Linked DNA regions of Homo sapiens: regions 2 and 3 are each linked to region 1. Evidence: promoter capture Hi-C in human tissues and cell types (Jung and others, 2019). All regions are on one chromosome and are shown on one strand. The core of a region is centred on a gene start or on the middle of the fragment in contact, and the rest is flanking DNA. Distances in the headings are between cores, read along the strand shown.

Region 1 (3,609 bases), core at 480-2,979:
CCAGGGCTCCTCCTGGGAGAGGGGGCAGAACAGAAGGAAAGATTACACCTTAGCCTGTACTCAAGGGCATTGCTTGTAAGTCTGTCCAACCAGAAGAAAGTTCAGATCCTTTATTTGTGAGCTGGATTATACCTCTGGAAGAGAAAAAAGGGAGAGACAAGTTTTACTCCCTCCTGGAGGCAGATTTCTCTACCTTGATTTTTTCAGAAATTGTGTACATTCTCTCCTCTCATGTATGTATCTCCTACATACCATACACACGATTCTTCTCCCCCTTCTATACCCCAGCCCACGCCAACCCACACCCACTGTTCTCTCTTCCAGCTATGGATCAAGGGAAATCTTCCCGGGTCCCTAGTTGGTATCTGTTTTCATAGCATCTTTGGGGAGGTTTTGTAAACAAAGCATTGGTAGAAGGGCCCTTGGCTGATGGGGCCATAAAGTGCCCTTTCTTTGGTTTTGTGCTCTCCCTCTCTTGTGGGGCCAGTCATTTGAATCCAGAAGATATCCCAGGATGGAGCTGCCCTGAGTATTTCTGTGGCTGGTTGGAAGGCTGGCACACAACAAAGTGGGCATGCAGCAGGCTGCCTCCCTGGCTTAGGCCAAAAAAATAAAGCAACTCAGAGATGGAGAAGAGGCAGGAAATCTATGTTGTAAAAAGTCTTTGTTTAAAGGAATTCCGTTCAGGTGCTGAGAACGGGGTGTTCAGCAGAAGAGGATAATATGAGTAAACATTGGCAGTAAGAACAAACACAGCAGTATCACTGTCTGCGTCTGGCCTCCTCCTGTGCTCAGTCACAGGTCTCTCCCACCGCCCTCTATGATAGCAATCATAAACAACATGTAGAAGGGCTTTACAGTTCACAGACCTCAGTTCCCCTCAGCGGCACTTCCTTGCAGGGTTTCTTTATGCACTGGATGACCCTGGTTCCACATAAATGAAAACTGGGCTTAAAGGACACATCCATGTCCTGGGAGCTGTACAGACTTAAAGAAAAACCTAGATAGGGGCAAAAATTGGGGCAGGCGGTGGGGGTGGGGGGTGGGGGGTGGGGGGGGGGAAGAAGTGGTCGAGAGAGTCATCTAATAGGTCACCAATGTTGCTTCTGGGAGGTTGCCGGAGGGTTGGCTCCTTTCAGCCAGGTTTAGGGCCAGGTCTGGACACACTCAGGAGGCCGGTGGCTGAAGGGCAGAGGGCAGGGTGGAGGCCCAAGTGAGGCCAAGGAAGGAGTGGATGCCGCTGGGGCTGGCACTTCCTTGGCTTCTCAGCGTCCTGGCAACCAAGAAAAGATTCCAGGAGTCGACTGGTGGCACCAATGCGAGAAGCCCCGGGCGGATGAAAGAAGCTGACCCGTGCGAACCCCCCACCCCCTCCACAAAACCAGGAGATTCCTGCCCAAGAGCAAGAGATGGAATTCCCCTAACGGAGGAAGCTGCCGACCTAAGGGCTGGGACTGGCAGCGCGCCCTCTCCGGGAGCTTCAGGTCTGGGGCAGCCTGTGCAGGCGCGGGTGGAGGCCCGGGCGCGTCCCTGGGGGCGGGAGCCAGGGGCGGCCAGCAGGTGGGGCCTGGGAGCTGGACTCCGCCCCCCGCTCCCTCCCCGTTGGTCCGCTGCCGCTCAGCACCGGCCCCTCTCCCGAGCCGGAGCGCGATTGGTGGCAGCGCTTGTCGCTCGGAGGGGGCCGGGCCGCTCTGCTTCGCGGCTCTCCCCGCCGCCGCTGCCGCTGCCGCTGTTCTCCTAGCAGCGCGGGCCGGTCGGACCGCCAAGGCAGCCGGCGCTGGCGATGGGAAGCGGCGTGGCCGCCGACACAGGCAGTGGCAAAGTTTCCCAGACGTACACATCTGGACGCGCGGCTGCCGGCTACCCGTGACCCCTCTAGGAAGGGTTCAGGGATTTTTAATTTGGAAAAAAATCCACCTGGTTTCCTTTGTCAAGGTCTCTCCGGGTGGCCAGCGGCAGGAGCTGCAAACTTGGGCACGGCGGCTACACCGGCAGCGGACCGGGCTTTGGAGAACCTCGGGACTCAGGTGCTGAGGTGCCCAGCGGCTCCGGACGTGCTACGGGGTGCGAGCGCGGGGGAGTTCGGGGCGCACGACAAGGAAGGGCCCCCGGGAGCTCTATATGGAGGAAGGAGCCCAGAATGGTGTGCACCAGGAAGACCAAAACTTTGGTGTCCACTTGCGTGATCCTGAGCGGCATGACTAACATCATCTGCCTGCTCTACGTGGGCTGGGTCACCAACTACATCGCCAGCGTGTATGTGCGGGGGCAGGAGCCGGCGCCCGACAAGAAGCTGGAGGAAGACAAAGGGGACACTCTGAAGATTATTGAGCGGCTGGACCACCTGGAGAATGTCATCAAGCAGCACATTCAAGGTACGGGCGCCCCGGAAACTTGGGTCGCCCATGAGGCCCGGGAGTGCCCCGCGCGGCGCGGGGTGCGCTGGGGCTGGTGCGCATCAACTCAGCCACGGCGGGGCTCTGGGGCCGCAGATGCGTGGTAGTCGTGGGGCCTGCGTGTGAGCTCCTGCCTGCGTTCGGGACCTTCTGTCTGCGGCCGTGCGCTCTTCCCCGGGGCACACGTGTGTGCGCAGGGCTGCACGAGCGGATGTGTGCAGCTAGCTGGCGGTATGGGGGCGCGCTGCGCACGTGTCCAAATGTGCGTGTGACTCTGGGCTGGTTGCTCGCGGGCTCTCGGGATCGCACACAAGTCCGGCTCAGAGTGTGTGTGCATGTGAATGTCTGTGTGTGTACAAGAGGGAACGCGCGGGCAAACGAGCTTTTTTGGCCACTGTAGGCGTCAGGCGAGATGCCCGCGCGGCGGCCCTGACTATTGGCAGTTAAGACCCGCAGGCTGCCGGACAAGCGAGGCTAGGAAAATTGCGTTGTATCAGCCCCAGCCCCAGTCTTGCTGTGATCCCGTTGGTAGGCGATAGGGAATGCAAGGAGCCCTCTGTGGTTGAAAAGCCGCTTGAACCTATAGCAGTCCCTACCCCCACCACAGCCCGCGGGTCCAGGACCCTCTCCAGGAGCAGGTGTCAACGCCGGGAAGTAGCGCTGGAGTCTCTGTCCACTGTGGTGATGACTCCGCCCAAGACTGGAAGAACACGCCCTGGGCTGCGCCTTCCCCGCGGAGCCGCCCGGGACCGGGTGAAGGCCGATCCCTACTGTAGCTCCACTCTCAGGCCCTGGGAGCAGCCGGGGCTGAGCAGACCTGGGTTGGGTCTGAAGTGTAAGGTTACGCTGGTTGGGTGCGCTCCAGACCAGCGCGGGGGTCCAAAGGGAGGGTGGGGGTTGCAGGGCGCTCTCCCGAGGCGACCTGGTCAATGAGCTGTCATGGGAGGGAATGGAGTTCCGGGCGCCAGGAGCACTGGTGCCGGGTGTGCACACACACACACACACGCGCGCGCGCGCGCGCTCACGTCCACACTTCCTCCCCTCCCCGCGCCCCCTGCTTTCTTCCAGGTGTGTGAGCTTCTTAAGGGCAGGGCCGAGCTTGGTTCCCCTGTAAACCTAGCAGGCCCACCAGGCTCAGGGGCCAGTGCATGGCAGACCTTGGCAAAATCGAATTGAACTGAAGGCTTACCCCCCACCCCCCCGCCAGGAGCAC
Region 2 (3,609 bases), core at 701-3,200, 110 kb after region 1:
TAATTCTTTGCCGCACTCAGAATAAAGAATTTCCACAGGATTGGATGCTTTCCTCCATCTCTGAGTGAAATCCAGAGAGAATCTGTAAATGACAAGCACCATGAACTATTTCCACAAGGAAAAACAGTCTGTCCTCCTGGCGGATCTGGGTCAGGCGGAGTCTGACAGCTGTGAGATGGGGTCAAGAGTGCCAGGCCATCATGAGACAGACTGCTCTCCACACTGTGTGTGAGGTCACATGCCACTTGGACCTAGGGCTAAATTCACCCTTTACTCCTGCCCAGGAGACACGGCTCAGCCCTGAACCCATGGGGGCAGGCGGTTTCAGATGGAAAAATTGGCTTTCGTCTTTGGTGACTTTAATAAAGAATTCTTAACTTAGACTTCTGGATGGGCTTTAGGGAATCTGTGAATGTGTAAAAATTATGGGAGTAACTCTGTGTATGTATATGTATACATGTAAACATATGTATGTGTGTATATATGTAGACATGTGTATACATATGATGGTATGCATACATATACATATGTATATGTGTTGATCAGTTTGAGCTGCTGTAACAAAGCACCATAGAGTGGATGGCTTACAAACAACAGAAATTGATTTTTCATAGTTCTGGGGGCTGAAAGTCCCAGATCAGGGTACCAGTGTGGTCCGGGTCTGGTGAGGGCCCTCTTCTGGGTTGTTTACTGCCAACTTCTCATTGTATCCTCACATGGCAAAAAGAGACTGGGAGAGCTCTCTGGCCTCTTCTTAGAAGGGCACCAATATACCATTGATGAGGGCTCCACCCTTATGATCCAATCACCTCCCAAAGGCCCTACCTTCAAACATCATCACACTGGGGATTAGGTTCCAACCTATCAATTTTAGTGGAAACAGAAGCTTTCATTCCATAACACAGTGTGCACATGTATGCATTTTCTGGAGAGATAGTCCAAGCCTTTTCTCAGATTTTCTGAGGGGTGAGTGGCTCAGAAGTAAAGAACCACTGCATTAGCCAGGTCTCCTCAGGATTGTCTGGGGCCTATTCTGGGGATCACATGTATGGGGTCGCTCTGTTAGCTGTAGGGGACTGGCTAGGTCATGCTTCAGCCTTGGCTGCGGGGACACAGCAACCTTGAGCTGTAGCTCTTTGCAGACCAGTGTGTAAGGTCTGAGACCAGGGCCTGGTGGCAGTAATTAGCTTCAAGGAGCCCTCCCTGCGTGAAGCTGGACAGCCGGTCCCTTCAGTCTTCAGCAGATTCTTTGGCTGGGATTCCATGATTCAGCTCCTGAATGCAGCCCTTGAATACTTCAATGCCATTATTCACAGCGAGAAACCTCATTCAGTCCAAAAGGAGGGGCAGCCTGTTTTTACAACCCCCGGGAGAGAAGGCCTTCAGCTGCAGCCTGGCCCTCTCTTGCATCACCTGGCAGGCTGCATGTCTTTGTCAGGAGTCAAGTGGAAGGCGGTACCAGCTGCACGCCCCGCCGAGAGGAAAGAGTGCCGGTTGTGTCTGTCCGGGCACCATCCTCATGTTAGAGCTACAGAGAGGCATGTAGAGGTGGTACACAGAAGTCTGGGTCAGGAAGGCCTGCAGCCTGAAAGCCTGAGGATGGAGCTCAGCGAATGCATATATAGGGCTGAGCTCTGGGACTGTCCACTATCACAGAAGCCTGGCTTTGAAATGATGTTGCAATGTGCCCAGCCCTGAGATTTGCCCTGGAGTCACAGAGATCCCATTTTCTAGAGAAGATCACAGCCTAGAAGAAAAGATAGATGGGCCAACAGGTCACACAAGGTGGTGTGAAAAGTGGCACAGTAGCTGGATAACTCCTTAAAGGCAGGCACCTTCATTTCTATTTCTTGCACTGAGCCCCAGGTTAGACCCAGGAAATGCATCTCTGGAAGGCAGCTATGCTCACCACTATACCACCAATGCAGGGAATGCATCTCTAAAGGCATGAGTGCCTTGCATATAGTTTGTGTTCTAAGGGACTTTCTGCATGCCCAGTGCCTGGTACAAGGCCTGGAAATGAGCTGTACTCATGGAAGGTTTGCAGAAGTGACCTGAATAGAGGTTGGAACATGGTGAGGCCTTATCACAGAGACGACCCAGGGTAGGGAGCTTTACCTGGTTTCATATTTAATGCTTCTGACCTGCCCTTCTCACAGGGCCCCTGGGAGAGTATACTGAGACAGCAGATGTTAAAATAGTTTGTGTACTTTAGTGCCAGGCAAAATATGGGCTCCCATTAAAGGTGGTTTTCCTATTGTGAGGCTTTCCACACCCTTCATGTCACATTGCCTTGTGTGAATCTTGGGTGCTTCAGATCCATCAGCGTGGTCTCTGTGACTTGGTGGTAATGCTCCTTTTGGGCTGCAGCTGAGTCTTCCCTTGTGTTGAGTTTTCCATGCTGTGGCCAGCATCTGCATGTAGTTGGTACTCACTGGGCCATAGTGAAGTGTCTGGAGTGTTCTGATGCTGTAACCAGGGACCTTGGGTGCTCTGCTGGAAGGTCCTGCCCTCAGAAGGCTTCTCAGAGGATGTGACCACCGATGCTGTGTCTTATACAAATACTCTTTCTGCGTGGTGCTGGGAGTGACCCCAGATATAGCCAAAGAAGGGAGATTGCTCTCCAATTGTCACCATGAACAGGATCTTTCAGTTTCCCACAGAGGATGGAGTAGCGCATGTGTTAATCACAGGGCAGTGAAGGTCTTGAATTCAGATATGCCAGCATGTGGCCAAAGGCCTGTGGCCAGTCCTCTGCTCTCTGCCAGTGGCTAGGCACAAAGGGCTGAGGCCTCTATTTATTTCTGATGAGATGTGCTGAGGGAGAAATGACTGGAGGCATGGAGAGGGGGGAAAGTCATTCCGTCTTCAAAGGAGCACAAACAATTGATGTGACTCCAAGCTTTCTCTCCATTGTTCAGTAACTACTTATTGAGCAGTTACCATGCATAGCACATGATGCTAGGCCTGGGGCTAGGGGAGAAATAACACCAATTCTGTTCTTAGAGTTTTCACCCAAGGCTAGATTAAGATGTATTGGGTCCTAAGAATCACAGTGCTCCCTTCCCCTCTTTCCTGAATGTAATGCAAAATAAAAATATATTAAATTATGAATATATAAAAACAATTCCAGCAGTTCTAATTGTTCCCATGATAACTACTTAAATGTTTAAAAAATCTTTCTTTGGATATCAAATTGTTTCAAAAATATTTTGGTATTAGAACTTCACTGATGTTCTGAAAACAAGCTCAGTGTGCCATTTAGATACCAAGGGCCCTAATTGTCACAGATTAAGAGAAGTCAGAAAAGGAGGAAGCTTTTTTTTTTCTTTTCTTTAGCAAACACTTGTGAAAGATGAGAATCAGGGCATTCAAGACAGAGGATTCAGAATGGGCAAGGGAAAAGCATGGGGGTGTAGAAGAAGAAGAGAAAAGTTCAGTTTGGTCCGAGAGGTAGGGAAGTCATGGGAGAGGGGTGGGAGCTGGGGCCAGATCTGGTTGAGCCTGAGTGCCAGATAAGGAGTTTGGGTTGTATCGGGTAGTTCTTGGGAGCCATCAAAGATTTCTGAGCCTCTCTTTGTTATTGTAAACCAATTTCCACATTCAGGA
Region 3 (3,609 bases), core at 319-2,818, 95 kb after region 1:
CTCCTGAATAATTTCCAATTATCCTCTAAGACTCTATTCATATGTCACCTACTCTCTGCTGTCTTTCCGTAACATTCTCTAGGACTCAGTTTCCTCCTTTGTAAAATGGGGGTAATCACAGCACCTATGTGATGGAGTTGTTATGAGTATTAAATAAGATAACCCATGCTAAGTGCTTAGCACAGTATCTGGTATATCAGAAATGCTCAGCAAATATCCAGCTGCCAGCCTGCCTGGCATCTAGAGGTATTGGTGGTTTGGGCAGTGGCAGGGCCTCTGCTGTTTGTCTCCTGCTAGGGTGCCTGAGTTTAACAGTCTCTTACTATTCACAGTTTAAGAAAATAGAGAATAATTGATGTCCATCAGGCAATGAATAGAAAACAGCTCATTGCAGATGCCTGGCTTTGATGGGCTCTTCAAGACTGAGGGGAGGAATTTGTTATGCCCAGAGAGCTCTGTTCTAGAAAGCAGAACATGGAAAATAAAATCTGGCTTTATAAATACATTTAGACTTAGGGTTTTAAAAATGTATAATATATATTTAATCTTGAAGAATTTTAAATATTTCATGGGCCATTGCTCATGGCTTGGTACCTCTAATTGGTGAACCTTGGTGGCAGAGACACTGCTTTGTGGCATCTGTTTACAGTTCTGTAGAATAAAGCTCATGTGGACATTTACTTAGGAAAAATCTGTGAATTGCAGAACCACGTAAGAATAATAATTATTGTCCCTGTTTTGTACCGGAATGAGCTGACTGCATCAGCCCAGAGACTCGAAAGGCAAACAAGTATCTGCAGGGGTAAAAAGAAACACCCCAATCCAACAGCAGACCATGGGGACATTTGATCAAAAAAGTGTCTTAGATAGTGAAACATAGGTTCTGTGCCAGATTTTCTTCATGCAGAGAAAAGCTACTGTAGAAGCAGAAGCAGATGCTGCTCGTCTCCATCCTTAGTGCAGAGTTGGCAGGGGACAGGGGTTGGGGGGTGCCTTCAAGACAATGAAGACTTTTGGAAGGATCACTATGCAGGGAGTACAGACCTAGACAGGAAACATTCCTGGCCAGGAATGCCAAGGTCATTGGCAATCTGGTGTCAAGGCCTGGAGAAATGCATTTATAAATGAGAAAGCATCTTCCCTGTGTCGGGCTCCTTCAAGAGAGGGTACCCACATCAGATGATAATTGTCATAGTCTAGGTGCAAGACTCCCACAGACATTGAGGAACCTGTCCATCTTAGAGTGTGGCGTGGACTCGACTGGATTGCTGTTCACTGACAGCTGCTGTGCTCCTGCGGGAGAGTAATATTCCCCACTTTCCCTGGATTTCACACTTGGCCATGTGACTTATTTTGGCTAAATAAATGTGAGCAGAAGTGACATGTCACTTTCAGGTGGAAAATTTAAGAGCCAATATATGCTCAATGGTCAATGGTACAGGTATTCTAGCAGCTCTTTTCCCAATGTAAGGGTGACAATGATGACACAGGAGCAGAGATCCTAGGTGATCCTGATGGACGTGTAGCCTGAGATGTAGCCTTTGTGATATAAGCTACCGGTATTTGGGGTGTTTTTGTTACTGCAATATAACCAGCTCTCCCCTGACAAATACACTATATTTTTAAAAGAAATATATTTTTAAAAGAAAGAATGATGTATTTATTACTTCCATGAATAACTACATATGTTCTGGTTTTTATAGCAGAAAGACAATGAAAGAAGTAACTATACATGCCAGAAAGGGACCAGCGCTGCATTTTTAAAGGAACATCAAAGACTCCAGGAGTCTACTTGTAAGAGTCTATGAATTTATTCACAAAGTCGTGCTATTCTACCATCACACAAACAGTCTGTCACTCACAGAAATGTTTGATCCATGGCCGGGCCCATGGCTTGCGGGAAATTGTTACATGGAAAAGCCGATACTGGCTTCCCTCCCTCCACCCACATCTAACTTCCTGGTCTTCCCTGATGACATCCTGCCTTTATGGCTTTATACATCCCTGACTGCCTGCCTAAAATGCCATTGCTCTCTTTTCTTCCAACATCCTGTCCCTGAGAACGCCTAGCATACTTACAGCAAATGTCTACACTGCCTCTGGAGCCTTTCTCATACCTTTCCCCCACTCCAGGCAGATGGAAGTTTCTTCCGTGTCTTCCAATTGCCAACTGGTCACCCCCATTAGCATGTTGCAGTGACACCTCAAATGTGATATGCGTGGCCGGGCACGGTGGCTCATGAGTGTAATCCCAGCACTTTAGGAGACTGAGGCGGGCGGATCACCTGAGGTTGGGAGTTCGAGACCAGCCTGACCAACATGGAGAAACCCTGTCTCTACTAAAATTACAAAATTAGCTGGGCGTGGTGGCGGGCGCCTGTAATCCCAGCTACTCGGGAGGCTGAGGCAGGAGAATTGCTTGAACCCAGCAGGTGGAGGTTGTGGTGAGCTGAGATAGTGTCATTGAACTTCAGCCTGGGCAACAAAAGCGAAACTCCATCTCAAAAAAAAAAAAAAAAAAAGTAATATGCACAACACCAGATCATCAGCTTTCTTCAAACCTGTTCCCCTTCCTACCTCCTCCATATCCACAACTGACTCCATTCTCCATTTAGATAAAATCAGTAGCCCTGTATTCTGTGTATTACTCATTCTTCCCTGTCTCAACCTCATCCAATCAAGTCTTACCGATTTCGCCACTGAAATGTTTCGTGAACTTTTTTGCTTTTACTATCGCTGTTTCAGATAAGGACCTTATCATCTGGCACTGGTTTTCATCTAACAGTCTTTCTTATTCATTGAGCTCCCTGCTTCTCATTCACCTCCATTCTACCACTTCTAGGGTAATATTTCTATTACCCTAGAAGGTAAGGATCCAGTGGAAACTTTCAGTCATTCGCGTTTCCTTGAGAGTGATGTTTAAATTGCTAGGATGGCATTCTGGGCCTTTCGAAATCTCCTCCATTTCGTTGTTTTTCCTACCTCTCCTCCTCCCCACCCTGTCTATATTCCGGCAACACCAGAATGTATTCATGCATATATATGTATTTTTTTTCTTGCACCTCTCTGAATTTGTATATTGGTTTTTCTGCATGAAATCCCCTCCTTTCTCTTCAACCTTCTCTGATAACCCTGGACTTAGTCTTCAAGATCCAGTCTGAGTTTTGCATCCTCTGGGAGCCTCCTGGAAACCCCAGACAGAATCTCTCTCTCCTTTCCTATTGCTTCTCAGAGCTTGTGTTTATGCTTCCCTTAAAACACTTCCACTCTCTGCCAGCTATGATTCAAGAATGACACAGACAAATGTCGTGAAGGCAGAGACTGAGTCCTATTTACTTATACATTTCGTTTGTTCACTAGACAATGGTATGGACTGGTTCTCCATAAATGTGTATCAGTCTGTTTTATTGTAACAAACAGCTTCCCGCCCCCAAATCAGTGACTTAGAATAAGAAACACTTATTTCTATGCTCACATTAAAGTTGGAGACTGTGTGAGTCAGTTGTGGCTGCCACAGCTCTGCTAGGTTCTGTTCCACGTGTCTTCCCATTCTGAGGCACAGGCTGAAGGACCAATCCCTATTTGGAACACACCATTTTCCTGGAAGAG

Evidence for each region. Contacts are between HindIII fragments. The study calls those that stand out against the background at their distance.
Region 2: a fragment that was not itself captured here is called in contact with the fragment with the promoter of GALNT18 in region 1 in 6 of the 25 tissues and cell types used here (H1 embryonic stem cells, IMR-90 fibroblasts, bladder and 3 more).
Region 3: a contact is called between a fragment that was not itself captured here and the fragment with the promoter of GALNT18 in region 1, in 3 of the 25 tissues and cell types used here (aorta, liver and pancreas).

Annotation. Positions count from the first base shown.
Region 1 is chr11:11,620,125-11,623,733 of GRCh38, reverse strand. GALNT18 (polypeptide N-acetylgalactosaminyltransferase 18) reads left to right here and starts at 1,729. Exons shown (of 11, transcript NM_198516.3): 1 at 1,729-2,375. The coding sequence starts at 2,141. RefSeq lists silencers at 1,427-1,786, 2,537-2,616, 2,637-2,706 and enhancers at 1,289-1,789, 1,907-1,986, 2,197-2,246, 2,987-3,216, 2,879-3,609 and 1 more. The HindIII fragment of the contact is 13,654 bases long and covers 1-3,609 here.
Region 2 is chr11:11,508,881-11,512,489 of GRCh38, reverse strand. All of the region lies in intron 1 of GALNT18 (polypeptide N-acetylgalactosaminyltransferase 18), which reads left to right. Among named protein-coding and RNA genes, the nearest start is that of GALNT18-AS1, 59 kb to the left of the region's middle. RefSeq lists an enhancer at 2,654-3,155. The HindIII fragment of the contact is 4,338 bases long and covers 1-3,609 here.
Region 3 is chr11:11,524,546-11,528,154 of GRCh38, reverse strand. All of the region lies in intron 1 of GALNT18 (polypeptide N-acetylgalactosaminyltransferase 18), which reads left to right. Among named protein-coding and RNA genes, the nearest start is that of GALNT18-AS1, 44 kb to the left of the region's middle. The HindIII fragment of the contact is 9,133 bases long and covers 1-3,609 here.